Regions from separate parts of the Homo sapiens genome. Here regions 1 and 2 are each linked to region 3. The links are contacts of gene promoters, found by promoter capture Hi-C in human tissues and cell types (Jung and others, 2019). All regions are on one chromosome and are shown on one strand. Each heading gives the region's core, a stretch centred on a gene start or on the middle of the fragment in contact. The rest is flanking DNA. Distances are from core to core; before and after follow the strand shown. Region 1 has its middle 9.3 kb from the start of SLC29A2. Region 2 overlaps RIN1 (Ras and Rab interactor 1). Region 3 holds the start of FOSL1 (FOS like 1, AP-1 transcription factor subunit).

What was found. The method cuts DNA at HindIII sites, captures the fragments that hold promoters and counts their contacts. A contact is called where the count stands out against the background at its distance.
Region 1: a fragment that was not itself captured here is called in contact with the fragment with the promoter of FOSL1 in region 3 in 1 of the 25 tissues and cell types used here (dorsolateral prefrontal cortex).
Region 2: a contact is called between a fragment that was not itself captured here and the fragment with the promoter of FOSL1 in region 3, in 1 of the 25 tissues and cell types used here (lymphoblastoid cells).

What each region holds. Positions count from the first base shown.
Region 1 is chr11:66,378,932-66,383,128 of GRCh38, reverse strand. No RefSeq gene overlaps it. Among named protein-coding and RNA genes, the nearest start is that of SLC29A2, 9.3 kb to the right of the region's middle. RefSeq lists enhancers at 1-75, 76-576. The HindIII fragment of the contact is 5,232 bases long and covers 1-4,197 here.
Region 2 is chr11:66,329,160-66,333,127 of GRCh38, reverse strand. It overlaps RIN1 (Ras and Rab interactor 1), which reads left to right. Exons shown (of 10, transcript NM_004292.3): 10 at 376-2,887. The coding sequence ends at 852. Among named protein-coding and RNA genes, the nearest start is that of RIN1, 5.3 kb to the left of the region's middle. The HindIII fragment of the contact is 6,220 bases long and covers 1-3,968 here.
Region 3 is chr11:65,898,195-65,902,207 of GRCh38, reverse strand. It overlaps FOSL1 (FOS like 1, AP-1 transcription factor subunit), which reads left to right and starts at 1,820. Exons shown (of 4, transcript NM_005438.5): 1 at 1,820-1,967. The coding sequence starts at 1,869. RefSeq lists silencers at 1,429-2,028, 2,637-2,756, 2,722-2,949. The HindIII fragment of the contact is 4,995 bases long and covers 998-4,013 here.

The sequences.
Region 1 (4,197 bases), core at 402-2,901, 480 kb before region 3:
TCTCAAAAAAAAAAAAAAAAAAAAAAAAAAGTGCTAGGTGCAGTGGCTGACACCTATAATCTCAGCACTTTGAGAGGCTGAGGTGGGCGGATTACCTGAGGTTGGGAGTTCAAGACCAGCCTGACCAACATTGAGAAACCCCGTCTCTACGAAAAATACAAAAAAAAAAAAATTAGCCAGGCGTGGTGGCGCATGCCTGTAATTCCAGCTATTCAGGAGGCTGAGGCAGAGTTGCTTGAACCCGGGAGGCAGAGTTGCTTGAACCCGGGAGGCAGAGGTTGTAGTGAGCCAAGATCGCGCCATTGCACTCCAGCCTGGGCAACAAGAGCAAAACTCTGTCTCAAAAAAAAAAAAAAAAAGAACAAAACATTTAACAACATCCTGCTGGCTGGATAACAGGCACCAACATATATAGCTGGTGGAACTGTGAACTGGTGCAATCTCTGTGGAGAGCAATTTAGCAGCATCTATTAAAATTACAGGTGTAAAAAAAATTTAGCTGTATATATCCTCGAAAGCATTTCCACTTCTAGGAATTTCACCTACAGATAAACTCCCAAATGTTATTCATTGCACCATTATTTATAATAACAGATGAATGGAAATCATCTATTTTATTTTTGTGTTTGTTTTTGTTTCTTGTTTATTTTATGCTTTTTTTTCTTTTTGTACTTTTTTCTAGATTGGAAACAATCTAACGTAAATGTCCATCGATAGGGGACTACTTTTTTTTTTTTTTTTTTGAGATGGAGTCTCGCTCTTGTTGCCCAGGCTGGAGTGCAGTGGCGCAATCTCGAGTCACTGCAGTCTCCACCTCCCGGGTTCAAGCGATTCTCCTGCCTCAGCCTCTCAGCCTTTTTTCTTTTTTCTTTTCTTTTCTTTTTTTTTTCTTTTCTTTTTTTAAGACGTAGTCTCGCTCTGTCACCCAGGCTGGAGTGCAGTGGCGTGATCTCGGCTCACTGCAAGCTCCGCCTCCTGGGTTCCCGCCATTCTCCTGCCTCAGCCGCCCAAGTAGCTGGGACTACAGGCCCCAGTCACCACGCCCTGCTAATTTTTTTTGTATTTTTAGTAGAGACGGGATTTCACCATGTTAGCCAGGATGGTCTCGATCTCCTGACCTCGTGATCCGCCCGCCTCGACCTCCCAAAGTGCTGGGATTACAGGCATGAGCCACCGCGCCCGGCCATTTTTTCTTTTTTTTAAGAGATGAGGTCACACTATGTTGACCAGACTGGTCTCGAACTCCTGGTCTCAAGAGATCCTCCCATCTTGGCCTCCCAAAGTACTGGAATTACAGGCGTGAGCCACTACACCCAGCCAATAGGGGACTACTTTAAAACATTATGGTTTAGCTATACAATGAACAACGTTATTAAACAAAAACAAGTTTAAGGAGTCAGGCAATATGATTCAGAGAAACTGCTCCCGGTATAGTGCAACTAAAATGCCGGAGAAGGCCAGGCACGGTGGCTCACGCCTGTAATCCCAGTACTTTGGGAGGCCGAGGTGGGCAGATCACCTGAGGTCGGGAGTTTGAGACCAGCCTGACCAACATGGAGAAACCCCGTCTCTACTAAAAATACAAAATTAGCTGGGCGTGGTGGCGCATGCCTGTAACTCCAGCTACCTGGGAGACTGAGGCAGGAGAATCGCTTGAACCCAGGAGGTGGAGGTTGTGGTGAGCTGAGATCACAGCATTGCACTCCAGCCTGGGCAACAAGAGCAAAACTCCATCTCAAAAAAAATGCTAGGGAACATATAAAAACATCTTTCTTTCCAGCACTTTGGGAGGCCAAGGCAGGTGGATCACGAGGTCAGGAAATTGAGACCATCCTGGCTAACACGGTGAAACCCCGTCTCTACTAAACAAAATACAGAATATTAGCCGGGCGCCTGGTGGTGGCGGGCGCCTGTAGTCCCAGCTTCTCGGGAGGCTGAGGCAGGAGAATGGCGTCAACCCGGGAGGCGGAGCTTGCAGTGAGCCCAGATCGCGCCGTTGCACTCCAGCCTGGGAGACAGAGCGAGACTAAGTTTCAAAAAAAAAACAAAAACAAAAAACAAAAAAAAAACACTTTCTGACGAATGGTTAAATAGGAAAAGTAAGAGAAATTCTTACTTTTTAAACTTTTTTTCATAGAAAGCTTTGAATCCACAGAAAGATAGAATAGCACAATGAACACTCGTAAACCCACAACCTAGGTGGCAATTGTTGATATTTTGCAACATTTTTCCATCTATATGAAAAAACATAATAATACATAATTACATATAAAGTACATATAATATATAAAGTAAAAACCAAGTATCATGATATTTCAACCCTAATTACTTCCCATACATGCTGAATAGTTTCCTCTTAAATTACCAATGTTCAGAGTTAAGAGTTGGTGTGATGCAGCCAACCGCTTCCAGCAGTGGCAAAGAGGGTTGGTTTTTATTTTGTCTTGTTTTTGCTTGTTTGGTTTTTATTTCTATTATTATTATTATTATTTTTTGAGACAGAGTCTAGCTCTGTAGCCAGGCTGGAGTGCAGTGGTGCAATCTCTGCTCACTGCAACCTCCCCCTCCCAGGTTCAAGCAATTCTCCTGCCTCAGCTTCCTGAGTAGCTGGGATTACAGGCACGTATGTGCTGCCACGCCTGGCTAACTTTTGTATTTTTAGTAGAGACGGGGTATCACCATGTTGGCCAGGATTGTCTTGATCTCCTCACCTCGTGACCCGCCCACTCAGCAAGTTACTGCATTGTTCATCGACAATACTTGGCCATCAAGAATGTTCACAAAATACTACAAATCAATGAATGTTTTCCCACGTTGTTATTAGGTTGAATCATGGGAAATAGACATTTTGTGGGTTAGAAAGCAACTTGATGAAGAGCATCCACAAAAAAACTACAGCTAACTATATACTTTATAGCGACAAACTTGAAGCTTTTCTGGTAAGATCAGGGACAAGGCAAGAATGTCCCCTCTCACCACTGCTTTTCAACATCCTACTGGAAGTTTTAGCCAACACAATAAGTTAATAAAAGGAAATAAAAGGCATACAGATGGGGAAAGAAGAAATAAAACTGTCTTTGTTTGCTAATGACATAATTTCCTAGGTAGAAAACCTGAAAGAATCAAAAAAGCTTTGGAAATAATAAGCAATTATACCAAGGCTGGAGGATACAGGTTAATATTCAAAAGTCAATCTTTTTTTTTTTTTTTTTTTTTTTTTGAGACAGAGTTTTGCTCTTGTTGCCCAGGCTGGAGTGCAATGGCGCGATCTTGGCTCACCGCAACCTCCGCCTCCTGCATTCAAGCGATTCTCCTACCTCAGCCTCCCGAGTAGCTGAGATTACAGGCATGCGCCACCACGCCCAGCTAATTTTTTTGTATTTTTAGTAGAGACGGGGTTTCTCCATGTTGGTCAGGCTGGTCTCGAACTCCCGACCTCAGGTGATCCGCCCGCCTCGGACTCCTGAAGTGCTGGGATTACAGGCGTGAGCCACCCCGCCCCGCCCCATATTCTTATATATAGCAATGAATGAGCAAAATTTAAAGCACATTATAATTTTTTTACCGCATTAAGAATGTACTCCATAGCCGGGCGTGGTGGCTCACGCCTGTAATCCCAGCACTTTGGGAAGCCAAGACGGGCGGATCACGAGGTCAGGAGATCAAGACTATCCTGGCTAACACGGTGAAACCCTGTCTCTACTAAAAATACAAAAAAATTAGCAGGGCGTGGTGGCGGGCGCCTGTAGTCCCAGCTACTAGGGAGGCTGAGGCAGGAGAATGGCGTGAACCTAGGAGGCGGAGCTTGCAGTGAGCCAAGATCGCACCACTGCACTCCAGCCTGGGCGACAGAGCGAGACTCTGTCTCAAAAGAAAAAAAAAAAAGAATGTACTCTATAAAAAGAGGAAAAAAATGCAATTTTTTTTAGCAACTTGTACATTTCAGAAGGTACAAACTGCTTTGTGAAATCAACCAAACATTTTTAGTGGGTGCTCCTCTTTTCTTTTTTTTTTTATTATTATACTTTAAGTTCTAGGGTACATGTGCACAACGTGCAGATTTGTTCCATAGGTATACATGTGCCATGTTGGTTTGCTGCGCCCATTAACTCGTCATTTGCATTAGGTATTTCTCCTAATGCTATCCCTCCCCCTGCCCCCCACCTCACGACAAGCCCCTGGGTGTGACGTTACCCA
Region 2 (3,968 bases), core at 612-3,111, 430 kb before region 3:
GGGACTTGGGCGAGTTACTTAACTACTTCGTGCCTCAGTTTTCTCATCAGTAAAATGGGGTAATAGGACCTACCTCCTGGGGTTGAGGTGAAGATTAAATGAGTTAATGCAGGAGAGTGCTTGGGGCACAAATTACTCACTATCAAATCTTCATCTCAGGCTTGTGAGCGCCCCACTGGGCTGTCCTTGCACCTGCGGCTGTGGCCCACAAGCCGACCCCTGGAGCACATAGAGCTTTTGCCGCTTGGTTCTCCCACTGGATCTCCACCTACCCACCCTGTCCCTGCACAGCCCAGAAAGCTGATGTCTCAGCTTTGGAGCCAGATGCATGCCAGCCGGGGCTGAGTACTTGTTTTTGCTTCTCCTCCTGCATAGCACCTCCTCCGAGTAGCCTATCAGGATCCCAGCAGTGGCTGCACCTCCAAGACCCTGGCCGTGCCCCCAGAAGCCTCGATTGCCACCCTGAACCAGCTCTGTGCCACCAAGTTCCGAGTGACCCAGCCCAACACTTTTGGCCTCTTCCTGTACAAGGAGCAGGGCTACCACCGCCTGCCCCCTGGGGCCCTGGCCCACAGGCTGCCCACCACTGGCTACCTCGTCTACCGCCGGGCGGAGTGGCCTGAGACCCAGGGGGCTGTGACAGAGGAGGAGGGCAGTGGGCAGTCAGAGGCAAGAAGCAGAGGGGAGGAGCAAGGGTGCCAGGGAGATGGGGATGCTGGGGTCAAAGCCAGCCCCAGGGACATTCGGGAACAGTCTGAGACAACTGCTGAAGGGGGCCAGGGTCAAGCCCAGGAAGGCCCTGCTCAGCCAGGGGAACCAGAGGCAGAGGGAAGCCGGGCAGCAGAGGAGTAGCTTGAAGTGGCCAGAAGGGTCATTCGGGGCGGGAGACCCTGAGCCTGCTGAGAAATCCTTTTAGCGCCAGCAAGCCCCACCCAGGGCCCTGTCCTGTGTCTGCCACCACCTTTGTCTGATACTTGTTTCCAGGGAAGCTGGGGGAACTGCCACATCTGAGGAACTGGAATAAAGATGAGGGGGCTTCGGGGGCCCCCAGACTGTGTGCCCAAGGCCCCTTGCCTCTTGTTCTTCTCCCCCAGCTGAGGGTGAGCCAGCCTGCAATGAGGGTGTGCCAAGTGGGGGCGAATCCGACAGATGCCCAACCTCTGACGTGGGGAGGGTGACGGTCTCAGCTCCTTTTACCCTTCCCCTCATGGGCATGGCTGAGGCAGGGCTCCACCCAAGTATCTCCCACCAGGCTGGGACTTCCAGACCCTAAAAGGTTCCAATGGCTCTTAGGTGTCAGGAGGATTTAGAGAGGCCACAGAACAGCAGCAAAGGCTTGGGGCCCACCCCTGTCCTGGACACCAGAAGGACCTGCACCTGCAAGCCTCAGTACTCTCATCTGTAAAGTGGGGACACTATTGCTGCCCTGCTCGGCTCCCAGAAGTGTCCCAGTGATCAAAATGGGTGATTTTGCTACAAGCAGAGCTCATGGCAGAAAGGGAGGGAGAGAGCTGGGCTGCTAACTCTCTCCCGGAGTCCGCTCTCTGCCAGACAGGGCTCCCACCTGCTGATGCCCAGTTCAGGGAGGTTATTCCCCTGGAAATCAGGCCCTGGGGAGAAAGTACCCAAGTTACAGTCTCTCCCCAAGATTTGGAGTCCTCCCAGGCCCTCCAGCATCTCTGGGGAGATCCACCAGCTGGCAGATAAGCTTCCAGAATGGAGAGGGGGCTCAGAAACCATGCTCTCTGCACTAAACTCTTGGCCCTCACAAAAGCTTTACTTGGCCATGACTTGTTGGGCCCACTGAGGGTCAGGAAAGTGACTCCCAGGATGTCATATAGCAAGTCCTTAAGGGTTCCCCCGCCCAAACCAGGGCATCAGGTTCCAACTCCACCCTCCATTCTAAGCCACCCACAAAGGCCGGGGCAGCCCCCAAGGAAGCCCAGAGCAGGCAGCAAATCCAAACAAGGAAAAGTGCCGACCACCAACCACGAGGGGGTGTGCACGGCCCGGGAATCTGCCGAGAGGGTGACCACCCAGGGGTGAGGGCGCCTCCAAGGCTGCAGCAGCAGAGGGGGTCCCGGGCCTTGCAGTCCAGCAGCATCAGGCAACCTGGGGACAGCGCAGGGGCCAAGGCCACTGGCCCCCAGGTCCCTTAGATTCTGGGGTCTGGGTAAGGCCAGCCTCTTGGGGGCCATCCCCAGGAAGGAAGGAATTGTCCCCTTATGGAGGATGACCCCAGAGGCTCTCTCCTCGGGCACTGAGCACAGAGGGGACGTCAGCCCAAATGTCAGACATGACAACTGGGAGGTAGAAATCGTGGACATTGGCTTTTTGGGTTTTTTTGTTTGTTTGTTTGTTTGAGATGGAGTTTTGCTCTGTCGCTCTGGCTAAAGTGCAGTGGTGCCATCTCGGCTCACAGCAACCTTCGCCTCCCAGTTCAAGTGATTCTCCTGCCTCAGCCTCCCGAGTAGCTGGGACTACAGGTGTGCACCACCACACCTGGCTAATTTTTGTGTTACTAGTAGAGACGGGGTTTCCCCATGTTGGCCAGGCTGGTCTCAAACTCCCGACCTCAGGTGATCCGCCCGCCTTGGCCTCCCAAAGTACTGGGATTACAGGCGTGAGCTACCACACCCAGCCAGACATTGACTTTCAGATGAGCAGTCCAGATACAGCCCAGTTGCACGGCTCCCATTTTTTTTGTCACTAGGCCACCAGCAGCTCTTCCCTCCCCACTTCCACGCCCTCCCAAGGTTCTCGCTGATAGGAAGTGTCCCGTTGGCTCTTCTATTCCCCTCCCTGTTTCACCACTCACCCCTAGTGCCTCACACAGTCCAATGCTGAGCACAAATGCCATAGGTGTTCAATAAATGTTGTTCACTGATTGGAGTTTGATAACCAGGAGTGAGGGACAGTGAGGCAGAAACCTGGGGAGTATAAGGGAGGACTCGGTTCTGGGAATCAAACACGGGATGTGTCAAGCTCAGTCCCAGAGGAAGGACCTGGAATGTTTGTAGAGGGTGCTCGGAGGATCCCAGGGGCCGGATGTACAACTGGCCTCATGGGAATGAGGCTCTGGGGCCTCTACAAGCCCTTCCCACCCTTGCCAGGCTCAGCATGACCTGACCCCCTCCCTGCCCTCCCCAGTGATGGGGCACCACAGGGAGCTGCTGCCTGGGTCTTGTGGTTTTTCTTCTCAAGAAACTCTGGGCTGGGCCTGGTGGCTCACGCCTGTAATCCCAACACTTTGGGAGGCCGAGGCCGGTGGATCACCTGAGGTCAGGAGTTCAAGACCAGCCTGGCCAGCATGGTGAAACCCCGTCTCTACTAAAAATACAAAAATTAGCCAGGCGTCGTGGCACACACCTGTAGTCCCAGCTACTGGGGAGGCTGAGGCAAGAGAATCACTTGAACCCGGGAGGCAGAGGTTGCAGTGACCCGAGATCACACCACTGCACTCCACCCTGGGCAACAGAGCAAGACTCCATCTCAAAAAAAAAAAAGAAATGAAAAGAAAACAAAAAAGAAACTGATTGGTCAGGGGTCCAGGCCAAATCAGCATCAACAAGATTATGATCCTGGGGCAGAGCCTCCAGGCAAGGCAGACAATGATAGGCCAGTGTAAGACCAGTCTCACTAGCCCCATTTTACAGATGAGAAAACTCAGACTTGCTCAGGGAAAGTGCCTTGTTACAGGACAAAGGGCTCAGACACCAGGTTCTGTAGTCCTTCAAAGCAGAGGGGCTGATTTATATGTCCACTCAGCACATCTATCAAACATCTGTTATAGGCCGGGCAAGGTGGCTCAGGCCTGTAATCCTAGCACTCTGGGAGGCCGAGGTAGGCAGATCACCTGAGGTCAGGAGTTCAAGACCAGCCTAGCCAACATGGTGAAACCCCATCTCTACTAAAAATATAGAAGTTAGCTGGGCAAGGTGGCTCACGCCTGTAGTTCCAGCTACTTG
Region 3 (4,013 bases), core at 571-3,070:
TCACTTGATCCCACAACAGCTCTGTGAGATCAGCAGGGAGGCCCAGTTGAAGGAAGGTGACCTGCCCAGTGTCACACAGACAGAAAATGGTAGCTCTGGGACTAGAACCCCAGGGGCAATCTGGACTTCCTGGCTCTAAGTCCTGAGTGCACCCACAGGCTTCTGGCCTGTGTTCCCAAGGAAAGTAGCCCAGAGGGCAAAGCTAGAGCTGATGAAATGGAAGGACCGATGGAGAAGCAGGAGAGCCCAGCCCTCTCTTGATCTATTTACTTTGAGTCTTGCTCTGTCCCCCAGGCTGGACTGCAGTGGCGCAGTCACAGCTCACCGCAGCCTCAACCTCCCTGGCTTAAGCCATCCTCCCGCCTCAGCCTCCAGAACAGCTGGGACCACAAGGCAGGCGTACCACCATGTCCAGAAAATTTTATAATTTTTTGTAGAGATGGGGTCTCAAATGGTTCTTTCTGCCTTGGCCTTCCAAAGTGCTAGGATTACAAGCATGAGCCACCACACCTGGCCCCAGCCCTCTTTCTGTAGTCGTGTGACAACTGACAGCTCAGTACTCCATCTGGGCCTCAGTTTCCTCATCTATGATGGAAGTAATCAGAGAGAAGCTTTGGGATGGTGCCCAGCACTAACATTCTGGATGTGCGACAAGGTGTCTGTGAAGGTGTAAGGGCTTTGAAAATCTTGGCTGAGCCTGGGCTTGGAGTGCCCACGGCTGTGACTTGGCAACCTGTGCCAGCTACTCACTTAGCGACTTCAAGCAATTCATTTCAGCATCTCCCAGCCTCAGTTTCCCCATCTGTAAAACAGAGATGAGGATGATACCTGCCTCACATTCACTCACCTTTGACATACTCTCCAAACAAGTCTGGTGGCCACAAGCCTCCGAAAGGCACTGACCGTAATGAAGATGGCGTTTATCAGACCTCAGGACACCTGTAGTGGCCCTGAATTAAAACTCGTTATAGCTCCTGAAATTATCCTGAGTAATACTATTATATTGCATTTTATGTGGGGTTAGTTCAAAGCATTACCTTATCGCAAACATTTAAAATATACCACCCAGCCTGGGCAATACGGCGAGACCCAATCCCTACAAAAAACACAAAAATTACCTGGGTGTGGTGACGCGCGCCTGTAGTCCCACTTACTTGGAGGGGGCGCTGAGGCAGGAGAATCCCTTTAGCTCAGGAAGTTGAGCCTGCAGTGCGCCGAGATCGAGCCACTGCACTCCAGCCTGGGTGACAGAGACCCGGTCTCAAAAATATAAAGTAAAATAAAATATGCCACCATTTTTGTAACCCTGGTTTGTCATTTATTCACTTTTCATATACTCGAAGCCTTAAAACAAGGCCAGTGGAAAGACCTCACTCCACGAAGCTTTGGGTGGCGGTTGGCGTGGCTCCTAGAGATGTGATTCTTTCGTGCTATTTTGTGGGAGCAGAAACGGAGGTTAGCCCAGGCCTCGAGAGGGCTGGGGCGGGGCGCGGGCTCTGGCAGGTGCGTCAGTCCGCAGGGGAACCCGGGGCTCCACCTGGGCGCGGCGAGGAAGTTACACCATGTATGGGCAGCTACGTCAGGGGGGCGGGCCCGCAGCCTCCGGGGAACGCCGAGCCGGGCCCATCCCGGTGAAAAGGCTGCAGCCGGACTTGGGGAGGCGTCGCCAAGTTCGGGACCGACGGGCCAAGGCGGCGCGTCTCGGGGGTGGAGCCTGGAGGTGACCGCGCCGCTGCAACGCCCCCACCCCCCGCGGTCGCAGTGGTTCAGCCCGAGAACTTTTCATTCATAAAAAGAAAAGACTCCGCACGGCGCGGGTGAGTCAGAACCCAGCAGCCGTGTACCCCGCAGAGCCGCCAGCCCCGGGCATGTTCCGAGACTTCGGGGAACCCGGCCCGAGCTCCGGGAACGGCGGCGGGTACGGCGGCCCCGCGCAGCCCCCGGCCGCAGCGCAGGCAGCCCAGCAGGTGAGTGGGGCCCGACGCCGGTGGTCCCACGGGAGGACCGCGCGTGGGAGGCCGGGGTCAACTCCCGCACGCTCCGGGACTGGAGCGGGGAACCGGAGTCGGGGCCGGGCTGGGGGCTGGGGCGAGGATCCTGCCCCTCGCCGTCCGGGGCCAGTTGCCCCCACCGCGCAGCGGGCAGCAGAGACCCGCGAACTCCCCTTCTCCCAGCCGCCCCCTTCTCCCTCGCCGTCCGCGTCCGTCCCTCCGTCTCCGTGCCCGCTTTCTCTCCTCCTGCCCACCTCTGACTTCTGCGTCCACCCTGCTTCAGAAGGGGCGTGGGCGCCTAGGGTGGTCGCCTCGAAGGCTAGGAGGGTCTCTCCGCTTCGGGCTGAATTCCTGGGATCTGGAGTCTGGGCTGGGGTGAGGGTCCCCACACGGGAGGGAGGCGGGATCCGTCGGGAGAGCAGCTGGGCCAGGGTGGGAGTCCCGGCCCGGTCTGCGACCCTCCGCGTGTCCGTCCGTCTGTCTGTCCTTCGCCCCTCCGTCGCCAAGTCCCTATCGTTTCTCGGCCTGGGGAGTCCAGGGGGGTCCGGGCAGTGGAACCTGCCAGGTCCCCGGAGACCGGCCCTCGATCCCTTTGCCGAATGCGGCGAATAGAGACCTCGAGGTTCCGGGACGTGCGCGGGGTCAGGCTGCGGGCGACTCTCGCGACCCCACTCTCAGCCCCTAACGGCGCCCGCTGCCCGCCGGGGGGCACCCGGGAGGCTGCAGGTGCCCATTTCCTGTCGAGGGGCTGCGAGCACGTGTCGACAGGGGAGGGAAGGAGGGGCGTCCGTTCCGCCGAGTCACGGCGGCCGAGTCACGGCGGCTGAGTCACCCGGGGCGTCCCTCCCTTCCTGGCCTGGAGCGGCCCGGGCCCGGGAGTGGGAGATGCCGCCGGCGGTGCCTCGGACCCGGAACTGGGGTCACTGGGACGCCGGGCCCGCAGCGCTTGGGCTCGGGCTACCGCTGTCGGGACTTGCCTGGGCTTGTGGGCGCTTCCCGGACGATTGGGCGCCCACACCCAGGGCCCAGCGGCAGAGCTAGAACCCACTTCTCCCAGAACACTGAGCCCCATCCCAACCCACTCCTCAGATAGCTGGCTGATAGAATGGGAACAGGGACGTTGTGCTGGGCGCTTGCTACATCATTTACCATATTTCACGGAATCGAAGACCTCATCGATTGAAAAAAAAACCCACTATAACTTTATGCCACTAATTTTCTTTCCTTCTCTTTCTTTTCTTTTTTTTTTTTTTTCTGAGACAGGGTCTCCCTCTGTTGCCCAGACTATAGAGCAGTGGTGCAATCACAGCTCACTGCAGCCTCAGCCTCCTGGGCTCAAGCAATCCTACTGAGATCCTAGCTGGGAAGCGACCTGGCCACAGGCACGCACCACCACACCCAACTAATTTTTTAATTTTTTTGTAGAAATGAAGTCTCACTGTGTTGCCCGGTGTGACCTCAAACTCCTGAGCTCAAGTGATCCTTCTACCTCAGCCTCCCAAAGTGCTGGGTATGAGCCACCATGCCTAGTCCACTAAAATTTTTTAAATTGCCAATTAAACTATGATTTCAGAGCTATTAAAGGGTACTTCTTAACATCAGTGAAATCCTGTAATCCTCACCTGTAACAATATTAAAAATGAGGAAACTGAGGCACATGGAGGTTAAATAACTTGCCCATGGTCACACAGCCAGTAAGTAGCTGAGAGCTGAGATTAGAATTGGGACAGCCTGCCATGCCAGGTGGCTAAAGCCTGTCATCTCAACACTTTGGGAGGCTGAGGTGGGTGGACTGCTTCAGCTCAGGAATTTGAGACCACCCTGGGCAACCTAGTGAGACCCTGTCTCTACAAAAAAATTTAAAAAAAATTAGCCAGGCCGTGCGCGGTGCCTCATGCCTATAATCCCAGCACTGTGGGAGGCCAAGGCGGGTGGATCACCAGAGGTCAGGAGTTCAAGACCAGCCTGGCCAACATAGTGAAACCCTGTCTCTACTAAAAATACAAAAATTAGCCGGGCACA